Regions from separate parts of the Homo sapiens genome. Here all the other regions are linked to region 2. Evidence: promoter capture Hi-C in human tissues and cell types (Jung and others, 2019). All regions are on one chromosome and are shown on one strand. Each heading gives the region's core, a stretch centred on a gene start or on the middle of the fragment in contact. The rest is flanking DNA. Distances are from core to core; before and after follow the strand shown.

Evidence for each region. Contacts are between HindIII fragments. The study calls those that stand out against the background at their distance.
Region 1: a fragment that was not itself captured here is called in contact with the fragment with the promoter of DOC2A in region 2 in 1 of the 25 tissues and cell types used here (lymphoblastoid cells).
Region 3: a contact is called between the fragment with the promoter of NFATC2IP here and the fragment with the promoter of DOC2A in region 2, in 1 of the 25 tissues and cell types used here (lymphoblastoid cells).
Region 4: a fragment that was not itself captured here is called in contact with the fragment with the promoter of DOC2A in region 2 in 1 of the 25 tissues and cell types used here (lymphoblastoid cells).

The regions. Positions count from the first base shown.
Region 1 is chr16:28,967,392-28,970,394 of GRCh38, forward strand. No RefSeq gene overlaps it. Among named protein-coding and RNA genes, the nearest start is that of NFATC2IP-AS1, 2.4 kb to the left of the region's middle. The HindIII fragment of the contact is 5,584 bases long and covers 1-3,003 here.
Region 2 is chr16:30,009,593-30,012,746 of GRCh38, forward strand. DOC2A (double C2 domain alpha) reads right to left here and starts at 1,435. Exons shown (of 11, transcript NM_003586.3): 1 at 1,311-1,435; 2 at 369-643. The coding sequence starts at 630. RefSeq lists a silencer at 1,342-1,401. The HindIII fragment of the contact is 30,604 bases long and covers 1,275-3,154 here.
Region 3 is chr16:28,949,594-28,952,443 of GRCh38, forward strand. NFATC2IP (nuclear factor of activated T cells 2 interacting protein) reads left to right here and starts at 1,344. Exons shown (of 8, transcript NM_032815.4): 1 at 1,344-1,805; 2 at 2,539-2,611. The coding sequence starts at 1,419. RefSeq lists enhancers at 666-1,200, 1,220-1,720 and silencers at 1,440-1,539, 1,680-1,799. The HindIII fragment of the contact is 8,980 bases long and covers 1-2,850 here.
Region 4 is chr16:28,870,706-28,873,732 of GRCh38, forward strand. It overlaps SH2B1 (SH2B adaptor protein 1), which reads left to right. Exons shown (of 8, transcript NM_001387430.1): 5 at 1,075-1,278; 6 at 1,485-1,696; 7 at 1,829-2,000; 8 at 2,742-3,027. Among named protein-coding and RNA genes, the nearest start is that of ATP2A1, 6.3 kb to the right of the region's middle. The HindIII fragment of the contact is 4,269 bases long and covers 1-3,027 here.

The DNA of each region.
Region 1 (3,003 bases), core at 491-2,990, 1.0 Mb before region 2:
GGGCAACAATCAAGACCCTGTCTCAAAAAAAAAAAAAAATTAAGACAGTACTTCCTGGCTTCCACTGTAGCTAGATGTAGCCAAGTGCCAATACAGGCTCCTGGGGTGTAAGTGGAATGGGGTATCACTTCCCAGAAGTGTGCATAGCGGGCAGCTTGTCCCCTCTCTTTCACTTGCCTCCTGCCTGCTTACTGGAAGTGGAGCAGCCCTACTGACTTAAGGTGACCTCTGGAACAGAAACCACATGGGCCAGGATGGTGAGGGAAGGCGCCTGGATCACAGCATCCATGTAGCACCTCATTGGCCTGGCAGTGCTGACCTCGGCTTTCACATGAAGGAGGGACTGCTGCCCCTCTTTAAATCACTTATTTTAGGGTTTCTACCACTTATAACCAAACCCAGTTCAAATTCCAGGATGTTGCTATTGCAAGCAATGTAGTGTTCCCTTTGGGGTACCTGTGTGGGATTTTTCTCGGGGGCTTCCATCTGATAGTGGAATCACTGGTCACTAATTCTTGAATACTGTTAGATTGCTAACCAAAGTGCCTGTACATTTTTACATGTCCCCTAGCAAGTGCTGGAAGGTTCCAGTTTCCTCATACCTTCCCCTGACTTAATCTGGGAAGGGTATGGGAAAGACTGCATTTCTTTATCTTTTATGATGAGATTGTTCATCCTTTCACATGTCTAAAAGAATATCTAGGGTGATCTTTCTTTTTCTTTTTCTTTTTCTTTTCTTCTTTTTTTTTTTTTATAGGGTCTTGTTCTATCACCCAGGCTGGAGTGCAGTGGTGTGATCTCGGCTCACTGCAACCTCTGCCTCCGGGGCTCAAGTGATCCTCCCACCTCAGCCTCCTGATTAGCTGGGATCACAGGTGCATGACAGCATGCCCACCTAATTTTTTTGTATCTTTTGTAGAGGTAGGATCTCACTATGTTGCCCAGGCTGATCTTGAACTGCTGAGCTCAAGCAGTCTGCCTGCCTCTGCCTCCCAAAGTGCTGGGATTATAGGTGTGAGCCATCGTTCCCAGCCTTGTTTTGTTTTCTTGAGATAGGGTCTTCTCTGTCACCCAGGCTGGAGTGTAGTGGTGCTATCATAGCTCACTGCAGCCTCGATCTTGTGGACTCAAGCAATCCTCCCGAGTCTCCTGAGTAGCTGGGACTACAGGTGAATGACAACACACCTGCTAATTGTTAAACTTTTGTGTAGAGATGGACTCTCCCTAGGTTTCCCAAGCTGGTCTGGAACTCCTGGCCTCAAGCAATTTTCCTGCCTTGGCCTCCCAAAGTGCTGGGATTACAGGTGTGAACCACTGCAGCTGGCTCTGGATAATCTTCCTCAAACTCTCCTGATTAGAGACCCTTGAAACTTTAATGCTCCTTTACTCAGTGCCACATACCAACCTTGGCTCTTTTCATAACCTTATTCATCCTCAGAGCAATCCTGTGAGGTAGGTGTTCTTATTCCCATTTTACAGAAGAAAAACAGAAGCTTAGGGCTGGGCACAGTGGCTCACGCCTGTAATCCCAGCACTTTGGGAGGCCTAAACGGATGGATCATTTGAGGTCAGAAGTTCAAGACCACCCTGGCCAACATGGTGAGACCCTATCTCTACAAAAAGAAAGAAAAAAAAACCAGGTATGGTGATGCACGCCTGTAGTCCCAGCTACTTGGGAGGCTGAGGCAGGATAATTGCTTGGACCTGGGAGGCAGAGGTTGCAGTGAGCTGAGATCGCACCACTGCACTCCAGCCTGGGCGAGAGAGTGAGACGCTGTCTCAAAAAAAAAAGACAGAAGCTTAGAAAGATGAATGAACGTGCTCTAGACCACAGGGCCTCCCATTGCACAGCCCGGTGTAGATGCAGGTGGGTCTGATGTATGGCTCAGAATTCTCAAGGAGACCAGAGACTCTCGTCAGTGTGCACACAGGTTGTCTGGGGACCTTGTTAGTGTGCAGATGCTGGATCAGCAGCTCAGGTGGGGCGTGAGATGCTGCATTTCCAGCAAGGTCCCAAGTGATGGCAATGTAGCTGATCATACTTGAAGTTGCAACATACCATTTTGCCTTTTTTTCTCTATGCCTTTACTGTCTCCCACCTCCCTACCCCTGTCACCCCCTCCAACTCAGGGTCAGTTCTTCCATAAGGCTCCTCGTAGGACTGGTCACATTGTCTTTTGTGTGTCCCACCTCTGCTTGGAGTCTGGCTTGGTACACCCATCCACGCATCCAGGTTTTGCTTCCCTATGGGACTGTAAGTTCCTTGAAAATAAACTCTTCTTAAAAATCTCTTGGCTGGGCCGCAGTGGCTCATGCCTGTAATCCCAGCACTTCAGGGGGCTGAGGTGGGAGGATCACTTGAGGCCAGGAGTTCCAGACCAGCCTGGGCAATCTAGTGAGACCCCATCTCTACAAACATAAAAAAAATTAGCCAAGTGTGTGGTGCATGCCTGTAGTCCCAGCTACTCAGGAAGGAGGCTGAGGTGGGAGGATTGCTTGAGCCCAGGAGTTCGAGACTGTAGTGAGCTGTGATTGTGCCACTGCACACCAGCCTGGGCAACAGAGCAAGACCCCATCTCAAAAAAGTCTCTTGCTTGGTGTCTGACACCTTGACACAGTAGTATCCTAACAAATGTTTGTTGAATGATTAAACTCCTGTCTCAAAGAATCCCAGCATCATCCATCTCTGCGTGAGCCAGAAAAGCTTCACTCTTGATCCCTTTTCATCCCCCACACCCACTGCATCACCCGTTCAACTTAATAGCCCCAGCTCCCTCCCAAATCAGCTCCCTCTGCCCGTCTCCATGCTGTCCTAGGCCAAGCCACCACTGCCTGCAGCCTAGGCTAGTGCCACAGCCGCTTCACGGGTGGCTGTTTCCCCTCTGGCCTCTCAAATCCATCTTCCATGCTGCAGCCAGAATGATATTTTCTTTGGTTTTTTCTTTGTTTTTTTTTTTTGAGACGGAGTCTCAGTCTGTTGTCCAGGCTGGAGTGCAGTGGCGC
Region 2 (3,154 bases), core at 185-2,684:
GAGACAGGTGTGTGCGAGAGGCCAGCAGGTGGGCACTGGCTCTGTGTGTCTCTCTCTCTTGCCAGCCCGCGAGTGTGAGTGCAAGAGGCTGAGTGGGCCCATGCGTGTGTGCGTCTGGGTCCCTGGCTCGGCCGCAACTGGGGCTGTGTGGGTGGTGGAGTGTCTCAGCAGAAATACTGAATATTGAGCCTTGCTGAAGCTGTAATCTCCACGCTGACTGCAGCTGTGGTGGCCGTCCCTGCCACCCCCCCACTGCCCTCCTCCCCTACCTACATGCACAGCCAGCAGGGCCCATCCCCCTCTCCCCCCACCACGGCAAGCCTGGAGACCCCCACCAGCACATGGGGCCTCCAAGCCCCCAGACTCACTGGCATCATCCGAGTCATAGCTGTCCACCTCCGCACCATCCTCAGGCGTGGTGGCCCCAAGGAGGGCTGCAGGGGGGGCCAGAGCCAGGGGGACCAGATGGGCGGGGGCCTCCCCGCCGCCCCCGCCGCCCCCTTCAGGTCCTGGTCCCCGGGGGAAGTAGTCAGAGATCTGGCGGATGGGCCGGATGGGCCCGGGGCACACGTTGATGGCCATGTGCTCCTGGATGTTGATGGTCATGCGATCGCCCCTGCGGCCCCTCATGCAGCACCCCTGGCTAGGAGAGGGCGTGTGAGCCAGTGAGCCCATCATACCTAGCCATCCTGGCTGAGGGCCAGGCGACGGCCTCCTCGGTCTGTGGGGCCCTCACTGGCCTCCCTTCCTAGGTGTCGAGGGAGAGGGTGGTGTGTGCCAGCCGGTGGCAGGTGGGAGGCCTGGGCCCTGCAGACCCCAAGCTGACTCCACAGGGGCTGGGCTGCCAACCCACTCCTTGCAGAAGTCGAGGTTGCACCACCCCGTCCTCACCCACCCACTTCTAGGTTGTCCCTGTATCATCTTGCCAGCTCCTTCCTCTCCTCCGGGGCTCCCCTCTGCTCCTGAGCCTGCCTGTCCCCCAAGGGGCCCTGCAGGGCCCCGCCTCTGTTTCTCGGAGGCTCTGTCCTCCTCTGCACCAGGCGCTGGTCTAGTCAGGGTGTCACCCACCCCTCTAGGCTCCAACTGCCCACTGTCCCCTCATTCAGCCCCAGGACCTGTCTGCCTGCCTGGTTCCCCCGCTCGCTCACCACAGCCCACGGTGGAGACCCCAGCCTCAGATGCCACCTCTGGCTCCTCAGGGGAGCCAGAAATTGCAGCCGCAGGAGAGCCGAACACCCCCGTAGCGCACACAGGCTGGCACGCTTCCCCGCACCCTCACGCCCCCGGCCTGCCCAGCCCCCTGCACCTGCCTCTGCCTCCAACAGGTGCCCAGGCACTGGGGGGACGGCGGGCGCAGGCTGGGCGGCGGCGGCCGGCGAGGAGAGCGCGGAGTCGAGCTGTGCGAGCCGAGAGGGAGGGAGCGCCGAGAAAGTGCGGGGAGGAGGGGGTGAGCGAGGTGGAGGCGAGGATGCAGCCGGCGCGGCGGCGGGGGACGGGGAGGGGCGCTGGGGCTGGGGAGGGGGCGGGATCTCGGACTCCCACCCGGGGCCCGCTCGGGAGCGCACGCGAGCGCGCACACACACGTGTGCTCGCGCGCGCACACTCACGCAGGGGCACGCGGACCGGCACACACTCGTGTGCACACATCCAACCGGGCACCCCCGCGCGCACACGCCCGTGCCCACGTGTGCACGCTCACACCCTTGCACACACCCAGGCGCGCGCTGGCACACTTACCCGGAGAACTTCGCACACACACGCACTCGCAAACACGCGGGCTCCCTGCGCCACCAGGAAGCAGCCGCCAGAATCGCCGGGTGTTCCCCAACTACTCCTGGGAGACCTGGCCCCCCGCCCCCGCCCGCGCGCGCGGCCACGGCGCCTCCCTCCCTCCCGGGTCCCCAAGGCCGGACCACCGGCCTCGTTGTCATGGCGACGCCGGCTCATCTCCCCCCACCCCCGCGCGTCTTCACGCCCCTCCCCCGCAGGGAGCTGGGGCCTCCCTCCTCCCTTCCCCACGTCCGTAGGGACCCACAGGTTGACAGGAGCAGGGGGTCGCCTGCTGTCACCGGCCGGGGATCTCGGGGTCTCCCGAGCCAGGCTGGGGAGCCTCACGATCTGAGGGAGGAGGCAGAGGTCTGATGCTGCGGCTTCCCCCACGCCCCCTCCCTTTGGCCGTTCAGGCCTCTCTCCTTGTGGCCCAACCCAACTCCCAGGGGCCCATGTCCCCTTACCAGGGATGGTATCTCCTTTGGGAACCACCCTCCCCCCTGCCATCCCCAGTTCTGCCCCGCAGGTGGGAAGGGGCGTCGGGGCTTGGCTCTGAAGGTCTCAGAGCCCTGCGGTAGTTCCCCATGGGCTGCCATTTCTCACCCAAACCTTGCCACCCCCAAGCCGCCCCCCTGCCCGGCCCTGCGCCTGCCACGGAGTGTCAGTCCACCCCTGGCCTTCGGTCTTCACTCACCTGTGCCCCAAACTTACCATCCCGAAGACACGAAGGGGCTTATCACCCTCGCTGCCCACCACTGACTCACCCAACCGTTTCCTGCAGTTCCTGGGACACACCTAGACGGCTCAGGCCTAGGGATCTTGGCTCACATGCGCTCCTCTACCTGGGAACCGCGCTTCCTTAGGAAGTCACCGTGGGTCCCCTCTTCCTAGGAGCCTTCCTGGGGCATCCCGCACTGCCCCTCAGCTCCAGCGCCGTCAGGACTCGGCTCAGCACCGCTTCGCCAGTGCCTCCCCCACCAGCAGGGAGTTCCACTGGAGCGGCTGATTCATCTGGGAGTCCCTAATGTCCCAAACTGGGCCTGGCACGAAGTCGGCATCTCTAAGTGCTGTTATTTAAAACAGCAATCTGGTTGCACGACAACTGAACATACCTAACACCACCTAATCTTACCCTTAAAAATGGTGAAGATGGTACATTTCGATATGCGTATTTCACGGCAATTTTTTTTTTTTTAAATAAGAGAAATGGGGCCGAGAGTGGTGGCGGGTGCCTGTAATCCTAGCTACTCCAGGGACTGCGGCGAGAGGATCGCTTGAGTGAAGCCAGCCTGGGCAACACAGTGAGACACAGTCTCTTAAAAAAAAAAAAAAAAAAAAGTAAGAGAAATGTAAAGTCAACAACACTGAGGGGGCGGGGCGCAGT
Region 3 (2,850 bases), core at 94-2,593, 1.1 Mb before region 2:
TCCAGCCTGGGCAATAAGAGCGAAACTCCATCTCAAAATAAATAAATAAATAAAATTAAATAAATGAATAAAATAAAATTTAAAAATAAATAAATACATAAGATTTTTTTTTGAGATGGAGTCTCACTCTGTTGCCCAGGCTGGAGTGCAGTGGTACAATCTTGGCTCAGTGCAACCTCTGCCTCCTGGGTTCCAGCGATTCTCCTGCCTCAGCCTCCCGAGTAGCTGAGATTATAGGCGCCTGCCACTACGCCTGTCTAATTTTTGTATTTTAGTAGAGACAGGGTTTTACCATGTTGGTCAGGCTGGTCTCGAACTCCTGACCTCAGGTGATCTGCCCACCTCGGCCTCCCAAAGTGCTGGATTATAGGCGTGAGCCACCACGCCCAGCCTTATTATTTCTATCTTTCTTTCTTTTTTTGAGAGAGAGTCTCGCTCTGTCGGCCAGGCTGGAGTGCAGCGGCAGGATCTGGCTCACTGTAACCTCTGCCTCCCGGGCTCAAGCAATTCTCCTGCCTCAGCCTCCTGAGTAGCTGGGATTACAGGCGCACGCCACCACGCCCGCCTAATTTTTGTATTTTTAGTAGAGACGGGGTTTCACCGTGTTGGCCAGGCTGGTCTTGAACTTCTGACCTCGTGATTCGCCTGCCTCGGCCTCCCAAAGTGCTGGGATTACAGGCGTGAGCCACCGCGCGCGGCCAGCCTTATTATTTCTTTAAAGCATTTTTGAGACAGGGTCTCGCCCTGTCACCCAGGCTGGGGTGCAGTGGTGCGATCTCCGCCTCCCGGGCTCCAGCGAAACTCCCACCTCAGCCTCCTGAGTAGTTGGGACCACAGAGGGGTGCCACCACGCCCGGGTAATTTTTGCATTCTTAGTAGAGACGCGGTTTCGCCACATTGGCCAGGCTGGTCTCAAACTCCTGAGCTCAACCAATCTGCCCGCCTCAGCCTTTCAAAGTGCCAGGATTACGGGCGTGAGGCACCGCGCCTGGTTAAATCCGCGGTTTCCACAGGGAATTCCAGGCCCGCCTTCCTTCTCCCGGAAACCTTACCGCTCGAGGACTACATTTCCCAGGATGCCCTGCGACTAACCAAGCCGGAAGACGGTTGTCTTGGTTGGGCGGGTCCGGGAGAGGCTCGTCTGTGGAGAGGTGGCCCAGCCAATGGGTGAGGCCGACTGAATCGAAAGCTACGGTGATTGTGCCGAGGTGATTGGAATCTTTGGCGCCTTGGTTTCAGAGGTGGGCGCATGATGAGCGGGTACAGAGACCAATGAAAAGGCGGGAAGGCGGATCCCGCGCGTGGGGCGCGAAGAGTTGCTGACGAGCAGGCTGTTTGTCCAATGCAAGGCGAAAGTCGCTGAAGGGGGCGGGGCGAGGCGAGAGGAGGCGGGCGTGTGTTGTGGAGGAAAGTGTGCCATGGCGGAGCCTGTGGGGAAGCGGGGCCGCTGGTCCGGAGGTAGCGGTGCCGGCCGAGGGGGTCGGGGCGGCTGGGGCGGTCGGGGCCGGCGTCCTCGGGCCCAGCGGTCTCCATCCCGGGGCACGCTGGACGTAGTGTCTGTGGACTTGGTCACCGACAGCGATGAGGAAATTCTGGAGGTCGCCACCGCTCGCGGTGCCGCGGACGAGGTTGAGGTGGAGCCCCCGGAGCCCCCGGGGCCGGTCGCGTCCCGGGATAACAGCAACAGTGACAGCGAAGGGGAGGACAGGCGGCCCGCAGGACCCCCGCGGGAGCCGGTCAGGCGGCGGCGGCGGCTGGTGCTGGATCCGGGGGAGGCGCCGCTGGTTCCGGTGTACTCGGGGAAGGTGCGCCCGGTCCCGGGGAGGGGACCGGCGGAAGGGCCAAGGGCTTGGCCTCCAGGGAGGGGCCGGCGTTCGGGGAGGGTAGGGCTATAGGGGTGTTGAGGCTGGCGTTCTGGGGCTGGTCCTCGGGCGTTAGGGTGTTGGAGGCAGGGAGAGGCAGGGCTCCGGGACTTTCTGCAGACTGGGGTGGTGAAGGAGGGTGGGATGCGTTGGAAGTTTAGGATTCCTAGGAGCTAGAGTCTTGGGGGCACAGGGAGGCTGAAGAGCTGGGATTCCTGAGATTTTGGAGAGGGACTGGGAGGACCTGGGGCCGTTGGATTTTGAGGTTGGGGTCCATGGCAAATGAAGCCAGGGAGCTGCAGTATTGGGGGTTGGGGTCCATGCGGGTTCAGAGAGGACTGGGCGGCTCCAGAGGCTGGGGTCCCCCGATGGTCGTGTGAGCAATGGGCTGAGAGTCCCTAAGAGTCAGGGGTAGAGGGGCGGCTAGTAACCTAGTTAAAAAGGGCAAGGAAGCATACATTTCAGAGTGTCTTAGGCAGATGGAGGAAAGGGTGAAGGGTACTTCCATTCTGAATCCTGGGGAAGCTGGACTTCTAGGTTGCCAGGAGAGGGCCAAGGTGTCCACGATCTTAGGGAGGATTTGGGAGCTGGGTGTCAGGGAAGAATTACCCCCAATTTTTTCTTTCGGTAGGGGAAGGACTTGGGCCTGACCCCTCTCCCTTCTTTGTCTTTGCAGGTTAAAAGCAGCCTTCGCCTTATCCCAGATGATCTATCCCTCCTGAAACTCTACCCTCCAGGGGATGAGGAAGGTAAGGGAGGGCCTCCAGGGAGAGGCACGCAGCCGCTGGCTTCTCTTAAGAGAATTCCTGGGGTTTATATTCCTGCAGTCAGTTGTCTCCTGAGGCTCAAGGGAAGAGCGTGGGAGAGGGGACTCCTGCATCCCAGCCACAGGAGCTGGATTGTTAACAAGCATAGAATGTATTAATGTATACATTTCTGGTGCCACCTGAAGAGATGCTGATTCTGTAGTCCTGGGCGGGGCAGGAGG
Region 4 (3,027 bases), core at 181-2,680, 1.1 Mb before region 2:
TAGGGTCTTGTTATGTCTCCCAGGCTGGAGTGCAGTGGTGCAGTCACAGCTTCCTGCAGCCTTGACCTCCCTGGCTCAAGCCATCTTCCTGCGTCAGCGGCTTAAGGTGCTGGGACCACAGGCGTGTGCCACCACCACACCTAGCTAATTTTTTATTTTTTGTAAGAGATGGGGTCTCACCATGTTGCCCAAGTTGGTCTTGAACTCCTGGGCTCAAGTCATTCTCACACCTCAGCCTCCCAAAAGGCTGGGATTACAGGCGTGAGCCACTGTGTGCAGCCAGAATTCCGTGTGTGTGTGTGTGTGTGTGTGTGTGTGTGTGTGTGTTTTGAGACAGAGGCTTGCTCTGTCGCCCAGGCTGCAGTGCAGTGAAACAATCTCGGCTCACTGCAACCTCTGCCTCCCGGGTTCAAGCAATTCTTCTGCCTCAGCCTCCCAGGTAGCTAGGATTACAGGTGTGCACCACTACGTCCAGCTAATTTTTGTATTTTTAGTAGAGATGGTGTTTCACCATGTTGCCCAGGCTGCTCTCGAACTCCTAAGCTCAAGTGATCCTCCTGCCTCAACCTCCCAAAGTGCGGGTATTACAGGTGTGAGCCACTGCGCCTGGCCCAGGACTCCTTTTGAATGTCAAAATATTTGAGGCAGCTGGGCACGGTGGCTCACGCCTGTAATCCCAGAGCTGAGGTGGGCAGATCACTTGAGTCCAGGAACTCAGGGCCAACCTGGGCTATTATATAGCGAGACCCCTTCTCTACAAAAACATGTATATATATATTTAAGGCATTCTGCTCTCCGTTTCTGCAACAGTCTTTCAGCTGTTGATTCAGAAAAAGATGGAGACACATTGGGACTTTAGAACCTCCTTGCAATAACTCTGCAGTCCCTCAGCAGCGCAGGAAGCATCAGTTAGGAGCCATTGGTAAAAGCATCAGGGGTCACTACCCACAGAGCTGTTTGGCATCTTGGCCAGCGACTGCACACAGGGTAGACTGCTGGTGAGGAGATGGGCCCAGGACAGTCCTTTAGAAGAGGAATTTCTTGGGTTCTCAGCTTTGCCCTTTTTTTTTCCAGGGGCATATGGGGGCCTCTCAGACCGCCCCTCGGCATCCATCTCCCCCAGCTCTGCCTCCATTGCCGCCTCCCATTTTGACTCGATGGAACTGCTTCCCCCAGAGTTGCCCCCCCGCATCCCCATTGAAGAGGGACCCCCAACAGGGACAGTTCATCCCCTCTCAGCCCCCTACCCTCCCTTGGACACTCCGGAAACAGCCACAGGTACCGGAGGTGTGAGTGTGCATGTCTCCAGGCCTGGGTGCCTACCTTCCTGACCACCTCTCCTGGGATCCCGAGGGAGCTGGCCCAGGGGAGTTGGGGACGCATGTGGGGAGCAGGCGCCTTGAGGGGAAGGCAAGGCTTTTTTCTCCCAGGATGGGGGAGGCTGCCCTGACACCCCGGTTTCCCTCCCTCTCTCCTTCCTGAAGGGTCCTTCCTGTTCCAGGGGGAGCCAGAGGGCGGTGAGGGGGACCAGCCCCTCTCAGGGTATCCTTGGTTCCACGGGATGCTCTCTCGGCTCAAGGCTGCACAGTTGGTGCTGACTGGCGGCACTGGCTCCCACGGTGTCTTCCTGGTGCGCCAGAGTGAGACAAGGCGGGGTGAATACGTCCTCACCTTCAACTTCCAGGGCAAGGCCAAGGTGAGCCACCCTGTGGGAAAGGCTCTGTTCTGTGCATAGTTGGCAGTGGGGTGGGGGAGCACTGCCGGGGGAGGGGGTTTGTACCTGGCAGGGCCTTTGCCTCCTACCTCACCTCCCCCATCCCGCCCTCAGCACCTGCGTTTGTCGCTGAACGAGGAGGGTCAGTGCCGGGTCCAGCACCTGTGGTTCCAGTCCATTTTCGATATGCTCGAGCACTTCCGGGTGCACCCCATCCCTTTGGAGTCGGGAGGCTCCAGTGATGTTGTCCTTGTCAGCTATGTCCCATCCTCCCAGCGACAGCAGGGTGAGCAGAGCAGGTCTGCAGGGGAGGAGGTGCCCGTGCACCCAAGAAGTGAGGTGTGTGTGCCAGAAAGATGGGGCGGGGAGGGGGGACTATCACAAGGAGAAGCTTTGCTTGGGAGAGCAGGGTAGAGGAGGCTGTTGTGCCTCGGGGTTTGGAAGGGAAAGAAATGCGCTGATAGGACACAGGAAGGCAGAAGGCTCCTGGCCGGAGCCGGGGCGGCAGCTGAGAGGTGGGCGGGCGCATCCCCATTCCATCGGATCCTCTGTTCCATTGTCTGTCTGTCTCCTGGACCCATCCTGGCCTCGTCTTTGCCCTCCGTCGCAGCCTGGCCTTGGGCCTGCCCTTCCCGGGGACACTCGGTCTGATCCCCTTCCCTCCTCCCTCAATGTCTCATGTCCCTGTCTGATCTCTCCCTTTCCCCTGCCCCACCGTCCCATCTGTCCCCACGTTGCCCCTCCCCCCAGGCCGGGAGCAGGCTGGGAGCCATGCGGGGGTGTGCGAGGGAGATGGATGCCACCCCGATGCCTCCTGCACCCTCATGCCCTTCGGAGCGAGTGACTGTGTGTAAGTGTGGTCCTCCTCTCACCACCGCCCATGATCCATCTTCCATGGATGGGGGGTTGCTCAGGAGATGGGATGTGGGGAGACAGCCACGCTCCTGGGGGGCTGAGTGAAGGGGAGGCCACGGCAGGAGCTCACCTGCCTCCACAATCAGTCTGTTTTCTTACCATTCCTATCCAGAACCGACCACCTCCCATGACCCACCCCAGCCCCCTGAACCCCCTTCATGGACAGATCCCCCACAGCCTGGGGCAGAAGAGGCGTCGAGGGCGCCAGAAGTGGCGGCAGCAGCAGCCGCAGCAGCCAAAGAGAGGCAAGAGAAAGAGAAAGCGGGCGGTGGAGGGGTCCCGGAAGAGCTGGTCCCCGTGGTTGAGCTGGTCCCCGTGGTTGAATTGGAAGAGGCCATAGCCCCAGGCTCAGAGGCCCAGGGCGCTGGGTCTGGTGGGGACGCGGGGGTGCCCCCAAT